Regions from separate parts of the Homo sapiens genome. Here all the other regions are linked to region 1. The links are contacts of gene promoters, found by promoter capture Hi-C in blood cells and fetal thymus (Javierre and others, 2016). All regions are on one chromosome and are shown on one strand. Each heading gives the region's core, a stretch centred on a gene start or on the middle of the fragment in contact. The rest is flanking DNA. Distances are from core to core; before and after follow the strand shown. Region 1 holds the start of KAT8 (lysine acetyltransferase 8). Region 2 has its middle 6.2 kb from the start of ARMC5. Region 3 overlaps ITGAD (integrin subunit alpha D). Region 4 overlaps ITGAX (integrin subunit alpha X).

What was found. Contacts are between HindIII fragments. The CHiCAGO score rates a contact against its expected background, and 5 or more counts as called.
Region 2: a fragment that was not itself captured here is called in contact with the fragment with the promoter of KAT8 in region 1 in 6 of 17 cell types (M0 macrophages, naive CD4 T cells, monocytes and 3 more); the score reaches 6.8 in M0 macrophages.
Region 3: a contact is called between a fragment that was not itself captured here and the fragment with the promoter of KAT8 in region 1, in 1 of 17 cell types (monocytes). The highest score is 6.8, in monocytes.
Region 4: a contact is called between a fragment that was not itself captured here and the fragment with the promoter of KAT8 in region 1, in 3 of 17 cell types (naive CD8 T cells, monocytes and neutrophils). The highest score is 6.9, in naive CD8 T cells.

The regions. Positions count from the first base shown.
Region 1 is chr16:31,116,275-31,119,130 of GRCh38, reverse strand. It overlaps KAT8 (lysine acetyltransferase 8), which reads right to left and starts at 1,467. Exons shown (of 11, transcript NM_032188.3): 1 at 1,239-1,467. The coding sequence starts at 1,449. It also overlaps a transcript of BCKDK not described here. RefSeq lists an enhancer at 884-1,003 and silencers at 1,174-1,523, 1,423-1,649. The HindIII fragment of the contact is 10,033 bases long and covers 1-2,856 here.
Region 2 is chr16:31,451,888-31,454,743 of GRCh38, reverse strand. No RefSeq gene overlaps it. Among named protein-coding and RNA genes, the nearest start is that of ARMC5, 6.2 kb to the left of the region's middle. RefSeq lists enhancers at 517-1,288, 1,289-2,061, 2,642-2,856. The HindIII fragment of the contact is 3,667 bases long and covers 1-2,856 here.
Region 3 is chr16:31,401,352-31,404,207 of GRCh38, reverse strand. It overlaps ITGAD (integrin subunit alpha D), which reads right to left. Exons shown (of 30, transcript NM_005353.3): 6 at 1,963-2,093; 7 at 563-708. Among named protein-coding and RNA genes, the nearest start is that of ITGAD, 9.4 kb to the right of the region's middle. The HindIII fragment of the contact is 7,259 bases long and covers 1-2,856 here.
Region 4 is chr16:31,378,696-31,381,551 of GRCh38, reverse strand. ITGAX (integrin subunit alpha X) reads right to left here. Exons shown (of 30, transcript NM_000887.5): 24 at 1,906-1,984; 25 at 1,688-1,795; 26 at 1,487-1,570; 27 at 1,173-1,286; 28 at 928-1,029; 29 at 545-655. Among named protein-coding and RNA genes, the nearest start is that of ITGAD, 13 kb to the left of the region's middle. The HindIII fragment of the contact is 6,995 bases long and covers 1-2,856 here.

The DNA of each region.
Region 1 (2,856 bases), core at 218-2,717:
CCCTACTTCCTAGCTATGTGTAACTGAGCAAGTTATTCCATCTTTCTGAGCCTCAGTCTCTTCATCTGTGAAAAGGGATAACAGCTGGGCACAGTGGCTCATGCCAGTAATCCCAACACTCTGAGAGGGTGAGGTGGGAGGATCACTTGAGCCTAGAAGGTCTAGGCTTCAGTGAGCTGTCATCGTGCCACGGCAATCCCACCTGGGTGACAGAGCGAGATCCTGTCTCAAAAAAAAAAAAAAAAAAAAAGACAAAAGGGATAATAGTACCAACCTTAGAAGGTGAATTAATGCCTCCAAAATTTTTAGCAGCGCACCTGACAATTAGCAGAGCATTCAATAAATGAGTAAGGCAACCACTACGTGTCTGGCCCTATGCTGTGTTGTTGCCGGGTACAGAGGACACAGTGATGAATCACAAGAAGTGCTGCCCTCCAGAAGTTCCCAGTATGATGGAGGAAGACAGAGAGAGAAAATTACAACATAATGTTACAAAAACTATGACTGAGGTAGGAAAAAAATGTTGCAGGAACATAGAGAAGGGAACCACTCACTTTGCCTGAAGGGGAATCAAGGATGACATCACAAAGGATATGAAGCTAAGAGGATGAGTAGGAGCTAGGCAGGCAAACAAGGAGAAAGGGAAGAAAAAGCATTCCAAGCAAAGGGCACAGGTGGTAAAGGGCGTGTGGTCTTCAGAGGGCACAGTGTGTTCTGGCCTGGCAATGCCCTTTCCTAGTGTTGGCTAGAAACTGGAGAGGTCACAAAAATGAATGCCACCCTAAGGAGTTTGGGGTTAATTTTGAAAATGAGAGAAGGCAGCAGAACTTTAGGAAAGGGAAGCCTGTTGTTTCTGGAAGGTCTTCTCTCTGCGGATGGCTGCCAGGGACAAATGGAAAAAGAAGACGCAGAGACAAGAGAGGGTGAGGAAGCAGCGTTAGCAAGAAAAAGGAATGAAGCCTAAGACTGGGCAAGGAAGTGGAATGGGAACAATCCTGGTGAAGGCCTGAGCGGTGGGTTTGTAGGCGTCGCTCGGCATAATTCAAGGTCAACAGCCTCCCACAACCCGGCTGGTTTCTCAGCGCCCGGAACGCGGCGTTCTTTCCTCAAGCCCCGCCCCTCCTCCTCTCCACTCCCAGCCCCCGGATCTTGGCCTCACTGACAGCCTGTCCTCAGGCCCCGCCCCACCCCCTGGCCCTGAGCTCCGCCCCGCCCCCAGCCCTGGGCCCCGCCCTCACGCCAGGTGCTATCCGGTCGCCGGCACAGGTACGTTTCTCCGATCTCCACCGTGACTTCCGGCTCGCCGCGCGCCGGGGTCGGCGGAGAGACGCGGCCCGGGGATGGGGCGGTCCCCTCAGCGGCCGCATTCTCCCCGGGCCCGGGCTCGCCCTCCCCCGCGACCCCTGAAGTCCCCGCCGCAACCGCCGCAGCAGCTCCCTGTGCCGCCATCGCGGGAAGGGAAGTGACGCCAGAATCGGACGCCACGCAGTTCTTTTGGCTCCGGGTCAGCAGTGCGTGGGGCGGGCTCCTCAAGGTTTGAGGGCGGGGTCTGTGATGTAGCAGGAGCCGATTGGCTTCTGTGGCCGTCCCCGCGGCCCCGCGAGTTGGATGTTGAGTGTGCGGCAGTCTTGGAGCTCCTGGTTTTCCGTGCGGACCTGTGGCTGCAGCCTATGGGTGAGGAGAGGAGACAGACTTACCTCATGCGATGACTCAACTCAACCTTTTTTTAATTTATTTATTTATTTATTTATTTATTTATTTTGAGACGGAATCATGCTCTGTCGCCCAGGCTGGAGTGCAGAGGCGCGATCTCGGCTCACTGCAACCTCCGCCTCCGGGTTCAAGCGATTCCTCTGCCTCAGCCTCCCGGGTAGCTGGGACTGCAGGCGCGCGCCACCACGCCCATCTAATTTTTGTATTTTTAGTAGAGACGGGGTTTCACCATGTTGTCCAGGATAGTCTTGATCTCTTGACCTCGTGATCTGCCAGCCTCAACCTCCCAAAGTGCTGGGATTATAGGCGTGAGCCACCGTGCCCGGCCAGCTGAACCTTTTTAAAGGCCCTGGTACCTGCGGAAGCCAAGATGTGCCAATTTTCAGCGGGCGCTGCCCCCACTTTAACAGGGCAGAGCCAGAGCGGCCGCCCTGGTGGCCTGGAGCCGCACACTCGCGCTGGCCTAATGTCGCTCCCCGCCCCCCCCCCTTTTTTTTTTTTGAGATGGAGTCTCGCTCTGTCGCCCAGGCTGGAGTGCAGTGACGCGATCTCGGCTCACTGCAGCCTCCGCCTCCCGGGTTCAAGCGATTCTCCTGCCTCAGCCTCCTGAATAGCTGGGATTACAATCGCGCGCCACCACGCCCGGCTATTTTTTGTATTTTTAGTAGAGAGAGGGCTTCACCCTGTTGGCCAGGCTGGTCTCGAACTCCTGACCTCAGGTGATCCGCCCGCCTCGGCCTCCCAAAGTGCTAGGGTTACAGGCGTGAGCCACCGTGCCCAGCCAGTGCCCCATTTTTGAAGGTTGAAGAGACTACTTCCCCTATTTGGGATACAGTTGGTGCGGGGAAAGCAGAACGGGTGTGTCCAGGGACAGGCCATAATTCACCCTCACAGGATAAAGTCTAAAGAAAGGACGAGTTGGGCGGGGCGTGGTGGCTCACGCCTGTAATCTCAGCACTTTGAGAGGCCGAGGCGGGCGGAGATCGAGACCATCCTGGCTAACACCGTGAAACTCCGTCTCTACTAAAAATACAAAATTTAGCCGGGCGTGGTGGCACGCACCTGTAGTCCCAGCTACTCGGGAGGCTGAGGCAGGAGAATCGCTTGAACCCGGGAGGCGGAGGTTGCAGTGAGCCGAGATCC
Region 2 (2,856 bases), core at 196-2,695, 340 kb before region 1:
TACACCACCACACCTGGCTAATTTTTTGATTTTTAAAAAATGTTTTGTAGAGACGGGGTCTCACTGTGTTGCCCAGGCTGGTCTTGAACTCCTGAGTTCAAGTGTTCCTCTGGTCTCAGCCTCCCAAAATGCTGGGATTACAGATGTGAGCCACCTAACCTGGTCTTTTTATTTTTTTAAAGAGCCAACATTTAAATAAGGAGATTTCACATCACAGTCGATTTCTGGGGCTTGGTTTGTTGTTGTTTTTTTTGTTTTTTTTTTTTTTTAATTGAGACAGGATCTTGCCAGGTTGCAGACTGGTCTTGAACTCCTAGGCTCAAATGATCCCCTCCTGGCCGGGCACGGTGGCTCACGCCTGTAATCCCAGCACTTTGGGAGGCCTAGGTGGGCGGATCACGAGGTCAGGAGATCGAGACCTTCCTGGCTAACAAGGTGAAATCCTGTCTCTACTAAAAATACAAAAAATTAGCTGGAAATGGTGGCAGGCGCCTATAGTTCCAGCTACTCAAGAGGCTGAGGCAAGAGAATGGCATGAACCCAGGAGGCAGAGCTTGCAGTGGGCGGAGATCCTGTCACTGCAATCCAGCCTGGGTGACAGAGCAAGACTCCGTTTCAAAAAAAAAAAGAAAAGATCCCCTGCCCCGGCCCTTCCCTCCCCCACCCACCTCGGCTTCCGAAAGTGGTAGGATTACAGGCGTCAGTCACCACACCCGGCCTGCTTTATTATTTATATCAGAAGATGCTGCAACATTGGATTTTTATGGCAGCAGTTCGTTGAGTAGTGGCTGTCCTGGACATAGGAACAGGGACACTCCCTCTTGCATCCCTGACTCAGCACGTTTCATATGTGTTACTTGCCTGTCCCCTGCAGAAAAGTACTTGAGGTTACAGTCTCCATCCCACCCCACTGTGGGTGAGAAGGACCTTTCCATGCAGTGAAGGCACTTTTCCCCTTTCCTTCACCCCTTCCTGTTCCCTTCTCTGCCGTTTTCCTTCTTCTCCCCCAGAACTCCTCTGTGAAATACCTGGCCTCCTTCCCTGAGCCTCCCTGTCTCCCTGCCACCCCATCTCCACTCCGTGCTATGACATCACCCCGTAATTTGAAGCTCCTTTCCCTATCTGAAGGGAGGCAGAGACAGAGTGCACAGGCTCAACTAGGCAAGGCAGACCCTTGCATGCCTGGGTCAGAGGTCAGGGTCTCTGGCACACATTCCTCCCAGAGCAACTGTAGGAAGCAAGCCAGTACAGAGGTACTCTAAGCGCTAGACAGGACGGGGTGGGAGTCGGTAACATCGTCTCCTCTGGGCTGGCCCTGCTTCTGCTTAGCTCTGGGCATAAGACTGACTCCAGTACAGTCACAGTTATGTCTCTGAGCTCACCCAGTCCTGGGTTCCAGGTTCCCAGCTCTGAGCCTGGCGAGACACACACAGGCTGGTGCTGTGGGATGTCTTGGTACGGTGGCTCACGCCTGTATTCCCAGCGCTTTGGGAGGCCGAGGTGGGCAGATCACCTGAGGTCAGGAGTTCGAGACCAGGCTGCCCAACGTGGTGAAACCCTGTCTCTACCAAAAATATAAAAATTAGCCAGGCATGGTGGCACGTGCCTGTAATCCCAGCTACTTGGGAGGTTGAGGCAGGAAAATTGCTTGAACCCAGGAGGTGGAGGTTTCAGTGAGCCAAGATCGTGCCACTGCACCCCAGTTTGGATGAAAGAGTGAGACTCCGTTTCAAAAAAAAAACAAAAAAAACAAAACCAAAAAATAAAAAAACACATCAGCTTGACATTTTGGAGGCATTCCCAGACTCAGGGTTAGTCAGCAGATTAGCATTTAAAAGAAAGTCTTGTCCCTACAGATTCCCTGACCTCAGCTACCCATGAAGGGTGGGAAGAGGAGTCCTTAGCAAGAAGTCCAGGAAGTTGACAACCTCCTCAGACCTGATAGGACACTCCTCTCTCCACCCTGCCTCCTGACTGATTTAATCTCAGGGGTGTGAGGACCTCTGAGATAGGCCCCAGGAGTCTCACCCGCACCACTTATGTCTCAGGGCTAACCAGAGACTCCCTGAAACAGATCCTAGAGGATTCCCAAGTGATAGGATAAATAGAGAGGTACTGAGACTTCCTGGCGTGGGTGACCTCTCCCAGGCTGGCCAACCTCCCCCATTCAGAAATTTGCTGAGCACCAGGAGTGAATGAAGTAAAGGAAGCCCCTAGGAGTTCAAGAAGCAGAGATTTCCAGGTCCATGCACCAAAGCTCATGTGCTCAATTCTCAGGAAAGGCCTCACTCAGTTAAAAAATTTTGTATCATGAAAGGGTAAATGAATTAATTAGTGAATCTGGTTTCTAAGCCAATGGCTTACTAGAAATATTATAGTAAATCAGAAAAAAAAAAAAAGGCGGTGGCTCACACCTATAATCCCAGCACTTTGAGAGGCTGAGGTGAGAGGATGCTTTGAGCCCAGGAGTTCGAGACTAGCCTGGGCAACATAGCAAACCCCATCTCTAGAAAAAATTAAAAAACCAGCCAGGTGTGGTGATGTTCACTGTAGTCCCAGCTATTCAGGAGGCTGAGGCAGGAGGACCGCTTGAGCCCAGGAATTTGAGACTGCAGTGAGCTAGGATTGTGCCACTGCACCCCAGCCTGGGCAACAGAGTGAGACCCTGTCTCTAAAAAAATAATTTTTTTTAAAGATAATTCTTCAAAGGAGATCCGCTCTTCCTTTCCTACACCCATTCCCTTTCCTCCCTTTCCTGAACAATGCTGTCTTACAGCCTCTAGGGGCAGGCAGAGCCAAAGAGGCCTCTGCCGGGTGTGGGGAGTGAGACGCAGCAGGCCAGAGCATGTATCAGAG
Region 3 (2,856 bases), core at 144-2,643, 290 kb before region 1:
GGGAGAGGAGGTGAGTGGGGAGAAAGGCACCAGGACGACCTTGGGTGACAATTCCTGAGTCCCTGACTACTCCATTCTCTGATAAAACCTCAGGCATTTATCCGACACCTCCTACGTGCCCCGGGCTGAGCACCCCACACACATGATCTCAATCCTAAGCTGTGAGCTTATCTTCATCTGAGAGTTACTGAGACTTAGAGCCCATCACCCCAGGGTTACACCCAGAGTAGCTCACGGGGAGCCAGGATGGGAGCCTGATGTGTCTGAGCCAAAGCCCGGGCCTCTGGCTGCTGTGGGGTGGGGAGGGGTCCTGGGGTCCAGGCTCTGCAGAACCAGGCAAAGGGGAGGCATAGCTGCAGAGGAGCCTAGTCCTATATCAGGGAGACTGGCAGCGAGGCAACCAGGAGCACCCCGGGGGGAGGTTCTCCCTGCAGCCCCGACATGCCCCTTGGTAGCCCCTTTCCCTGGAGCCTCCCTCAGCCTCTGAGAAGAGCTGTGCTGACCCAGGGTTAGGAAGTGGGGGTGGCAGTCACATCGCCAGGCTGGGGTCGGGGTTGCTTACACCACTGTCAGGATGCCCGTGGCCGTGAACGTCAGGCCTTTCAGTTGGACGATGGGATCCACCAGGCTCTGCTGGCTCGGGCTGGTCCGGAATTGGGTGAAGGTGAAGTGGATCTTCAGGAGGTTTGAGTACTGCATCAGTGCAAACTGCAAAGGCCAGTGGGGAGGGCCCAGGGCTCAGTGCCTGTTACTATTGTTTTTATTTTAATTTTTTGTAGAGACAGGGTCTCTCAAACTCCTGGCCTCAAGTGATCCTCCTGCCTCAGCCTCCAAGTAGCTGGAACTACAGGCACACGTCACATGCCTGGCTTTGTTTTTTGTTTTGTTTTGTTTTTGGTAGAGACAAGGTCTCACTATGTTGCCCAGGCTGGTCTCGAACTCTTGGCCTCAAGCAATACTCCCACCTCAGCCTCCCAAAGTGCTGGGATTACAGGTGTGAGCCACCACACCAAGCCATATTGTTTTCAGTTTTAATAAACTTTATTTTGGAATTATTTTGGATTTACAAACCATTTCCCATGTGTTTTGAAGCCCTACAAATAATATACTGAAACCCAGAGAAGAAAATTCATTGGCCCAAAAATACAAAATATAAACTGGAAAATCTAAACCAAATGATATTTCCTTCACAGTTTATTAAAAATAACTTTGCCAACCACAATATTTGCTACCCTTAGCTTTTTAAAAATTTTATCACACATTAAATCAATTTGTGTATTTCCTCCCTTCTCAAGAATTTGTGGCTGGGCGTAGTGACTCATGCCTGTAATCCCAGCACTTTGAGAGGCCAAGGTGGGAGGGTTGTTTGAGCCAGGAGTTGGAGACCAGGTTGGGCAATATAACAAGACCCCATCTCTACAATAAAAATTTTTAAAAATTAGCCAGGCATGGTGGCATGCACCTGTAGTCCCATCTACTCAGGAGGCTGAGGAAAGAGGATCACTTGAGCCTGGGAGATCAAGTCTGCAGTGAGCTATGATTGCACCCCCACACTGCAGCCTGGATGACAGAACAAGACCCTGTTTAAAAAACAAAACAGTGGGGTTTTTTTGCACATACATAGGCACTAGTTATGGGAAAATAAAATAATAAAAAGAAATCATTAGTTACATAGAAAATATGTCAGTCAAATTCCATAGCAAAATTATTTTTTAAACACTTTCAATGTTTTTAAACAGCAGAAACATTGTATTTCCTGTAGCTTTTGGATACATTATTAAATGCCAAGAGGGCCTCCTAGGTCAGGGCTCAAGTTGGGCCTGTGCTGGGACCATAGCTTCATTCTCCACCCCAGCCCCATCACACACGGCTCACTGGCCTGCCCCCACCCCTCCCGGGATGCCTCCCCGAGGCCAGCCTCCCCCGTCCCCCAAACCCCAGCCCCAGGTGCCCAGTCTTCACCAGGGTGTCAGTGCCCTCAAACTGGCCCATGACAGCTTGGACAAAGCCCTTCATCTGGTTAAAGTCATTTTGGTCAATGCTTCCAGAGCCGTCAATCAGGAAGACGATGTCCATCTCTTGATGTGGACACTCTGTGGGGGAATGGGGAGGAATCGGAGATGCACTGCGGGGGCCCAACCCCCTCCTGCAGCTCCTGCTCAACAGAGCCCGGGGGCTGTTCTTGGCATCCCCACCTAGTTTCCGACCCCTCCTTGGAGGAGGCCCCAGTCTGCCACCCCAGCCCCCTGCTCCCTTCCTCCCACATGGCCTGGAAAGAGAGGGATGACAACACAGGACCCAGGTGGGCTCCTCATCCATTTAATCAACAAATATTCATTAAACACAGATGCTAGGGGTGCCACAAGCATCAAGGGCGAATGTTTAGCAAAGTGGTTCAGGGCGCGTGTTCTGGAGCCAGTGTGCCTGGGCTAAACCCCAGCTCAGCCACGTGCTAATTGGTGAATTCAGGCACATTACTTAACTTCTCTGGACTTCAGTGTCCCTATCTGTAAAATGAAGGTAATATCAGTGGCTACCACGTGGGATCACTGCAAGGATAAAGCAACACGCACATGGGTGCTGGAGACAAGTCCTGGCCCTCTGCCAGGGTCAGCCGCTGGCACCATTCTCACCACGTGCCAGGCACCTTCGAGGCCTGTAGGATATGCCTGTAGGGATGCTGTGGGGGTGGGGCAGGGATCCACCCCAGACCCCACCCTACCCCCAGTCGGTCAGAGGTCCTTATTTCCAGCTACGTGGAGTTGGCTCTGAGCTGAGTCCCTTCCCAGGAATCACGCTAGGCAGAGGGGAACTGTTGCCCACTGGGACACCTCCTGCCCCTGGAGGAAACCTTTA
Region 4 (2,856 bases), core at 132-2,631, 260 kb before region 1:
AACTAATTTTTGTATTTTTAGTAGAGACGGGGTTTCACCAGGTAGGCCAGGCTGGTCTCTTAACTCCTGACTTCAAGTGATCCACCTGCCTCGATCTCCCAAACTGCTGGGATTACAGCCATGAGCCACCGTGCCCAGCCTAGATTTAGCCAAAATTCTATGAGCTGGGGTAGAATCACCTTCACATTGAGAAATCAAGGCCCAGAGTGGAGCAGACACTGGCCTATGGTCAAAGACAAAAAGAACCCGTGGTGATGTCGACATTCAAACCCAGGTCTGTGCTTTTATATGATAATCTGCTGTCAAGGGAAACACGTAGAATGATGGAGAAGAGCAGGAAAGAAAGGGAGAAATATTAGAGGAAGCCTGGGAATCACAAAGCAGGGGGCCACTGGGGACAGGTGACATTGCAGGTGGGAAGCAGTTTCTCATATGAAGTGACCCAGTAAGAATGTGCCTCTGCCTTCAAAGTGAGCTCCTTCTCACTCTGCAAAAAGAGCGGGACCAGATGCTGGTGGTGTCAAGAGTGGCATAAAACACTCACTTTGTACAGTACCGCTGTGATGAGTGCCAGCAGCAACAGACCCCCAATGGAGCTGCCTACGATGAGGGGGGTGGGGTTGTGGACCTTGTACTTCTCCAGCACCGTTGTCGTCTGAAGTGGAAGTGACCCTGTCAGAGCACTCCCATCCTCCTACTATCCCAGACTCCTCCCAGGCTCCCCAACCTTTAACTCCCTCCCCTCCTTCCCCAGGCCCTGCTCCAAGAGGTGAGACACAGCAGCACCCGTGCCCTTAGGGACAGCTATCCTGCCCAGAGGCCTTCGCCCTCCTCCCCCAAGGCTTGCAAACCCCCCACCCAGCACCACAGATGTAGCCCTAGGGGCCCTCTTTCCAGCCTGGTCGCTGCCCTCCACATGGTCTCTACCTGAGCTCTCATAAATGCCTCCTGTCCTGGAAGCTGGGAGTACACGGATGTGTCGAACGTAATTTCAGCCACACTCACGACCGACACCTTCTTCTGCAATATCTGCAAAGGGGTTGGGGGAAACCTGTTGAACTGGCTCTGGGGGAGGCTCAGAGCTCTGGGGGTGCCCTGGCTTGCAGATGGGCACAGACATGCCAGGTCCCGCCTGAGTCTGGGGCAGGGGCTCTGTCGTTGCACCCACACACCTGGCGGACCCAGCCAAAGCTGAGGTTGCCCTTCAGGGTGAAATCCAGCTCCTCCTGGACGCTGAAGGAGGGGACGTCACAGCGGAACCGCAGGCAGCCAGCAATGGAGCAGTCCTGGGGGCAGATAAATAGCATGGGGCTGAGAAAGATGAGTGTGAAGGTGGGAGGCAGCATTATGCGGTGTGACTTGAGGGCAGCGGCCATATCCGAATGCAAGAGGGTACTTCAGCAGGATGGATATGGAACATGAACTCCTGGGTTAAATTCCTCTGATGTGGGGCCTACAGTGAGGGCCAGCCCAGAGCCCTCCTCACCAGCACGGGATTCTTCTGAATGTGCGCCAGGAAGTCAGATGCTGGGGGTGCGATTTTCTCTGAGGAGCACCGAAGGGATGGGTTCTGGGGGAAAATGCAGAGAACAAGTGTCTCAGCTGGGACATCAGGGACCCACATGGGGCACAAGGAATCCAGGTAGAAAGGGCATTCGTGGAGGAGCCACATGCAGTCCTTGGGTACCTGGGGGTGGGAGACCTCCACATCCATCCACACAGCCTCCTGGTTCAGCTCCACAGGCACCCAGAAGTTGATGCTGACAGGCAGGTCCCTCTGTCCCAGGTTATTGACCTGCACAGAGGGCACTGAGGGCAGAGCCCACGCCAAAGCCCAAATCCCTCCCCAGTCTCCGGCTCCCAGCCTCCCACCCCAGCCCAGTCTCCTGCGTCTCCACCACCTGCCTGGTATCTGTGCATGGCCACATGGCTTTCCTTCTCCTCAGACTCTGAGAAGTTGAGGTATTTGGTGAATTGTTCGTGGCTGGAGAGAGAAGACGCATAAGTGGATGTGAACTACCATGGGGCATCTGCAGAAGGCATTGGCTAGAGCATGAGAGGACAGGTGGTCGGTGGGGCCTTGGAATGTCCTGGAATGAGGGCTGTGGCTGAGTTAGGTTATAAGAGAGTTTAGAGGCCAGGCGCGGTGGCTCAGGCCTGTAATCCCAGCACTTTGAGATGCTGAGATGGGCGGATCACCTGAGATCAGGAGTTCGAGATCACCCTGGCCAACATGGTGAAACCCTGTCTCTACTAAAAATACAAAAATTAGCCAGGCATGATGGTGTGCACCTGTAATCCCAGCTACTCAGGAGGCTGAGACAGGAGAATTGTTTGAGCCCAGGGGACAGAGGTTGCAGTGAGCCCAGATCACGCCACTGAATGACAGAGCAAGACTCTCTCTCTCTCAAAAAAAAACAGAGAGAGAGAGTTTAGAGACCAGGCACAGTGCTCACGCCTATAATCCCAGCACTTTGACAGGCTGAGACAGGCAGATCACCTGAGGTCGGGAGTTCAAGACCAGCCTGGCCAACATGGAGAAACACCATCTCTACTAAAAATACAAAAATTAGCCAGGTGTGGTGGCAGGTGCCTGTAATCCCAGCTACTTGGGAGGCTGAGGCACGAGAATTGCTTGGAGCCAGGAGGCGGAGGTTGCAGTGAGCAGAGATGGTACAACTGCACTCCAGCCTGGGCAACACAGTGAGACTTGGTCTCAAAAAAAAAAAAAAAGAGAGAGAGTCTAGAAAAGCAGGGCTGGGCTTCAAACAAGTGCTAATTGGCTGAGTGCAGTGGCTCACACCTGCAATCCCAGCACTTTGGGAGGTTGAGGTGGGAGGATCACTTGAGGCCAGG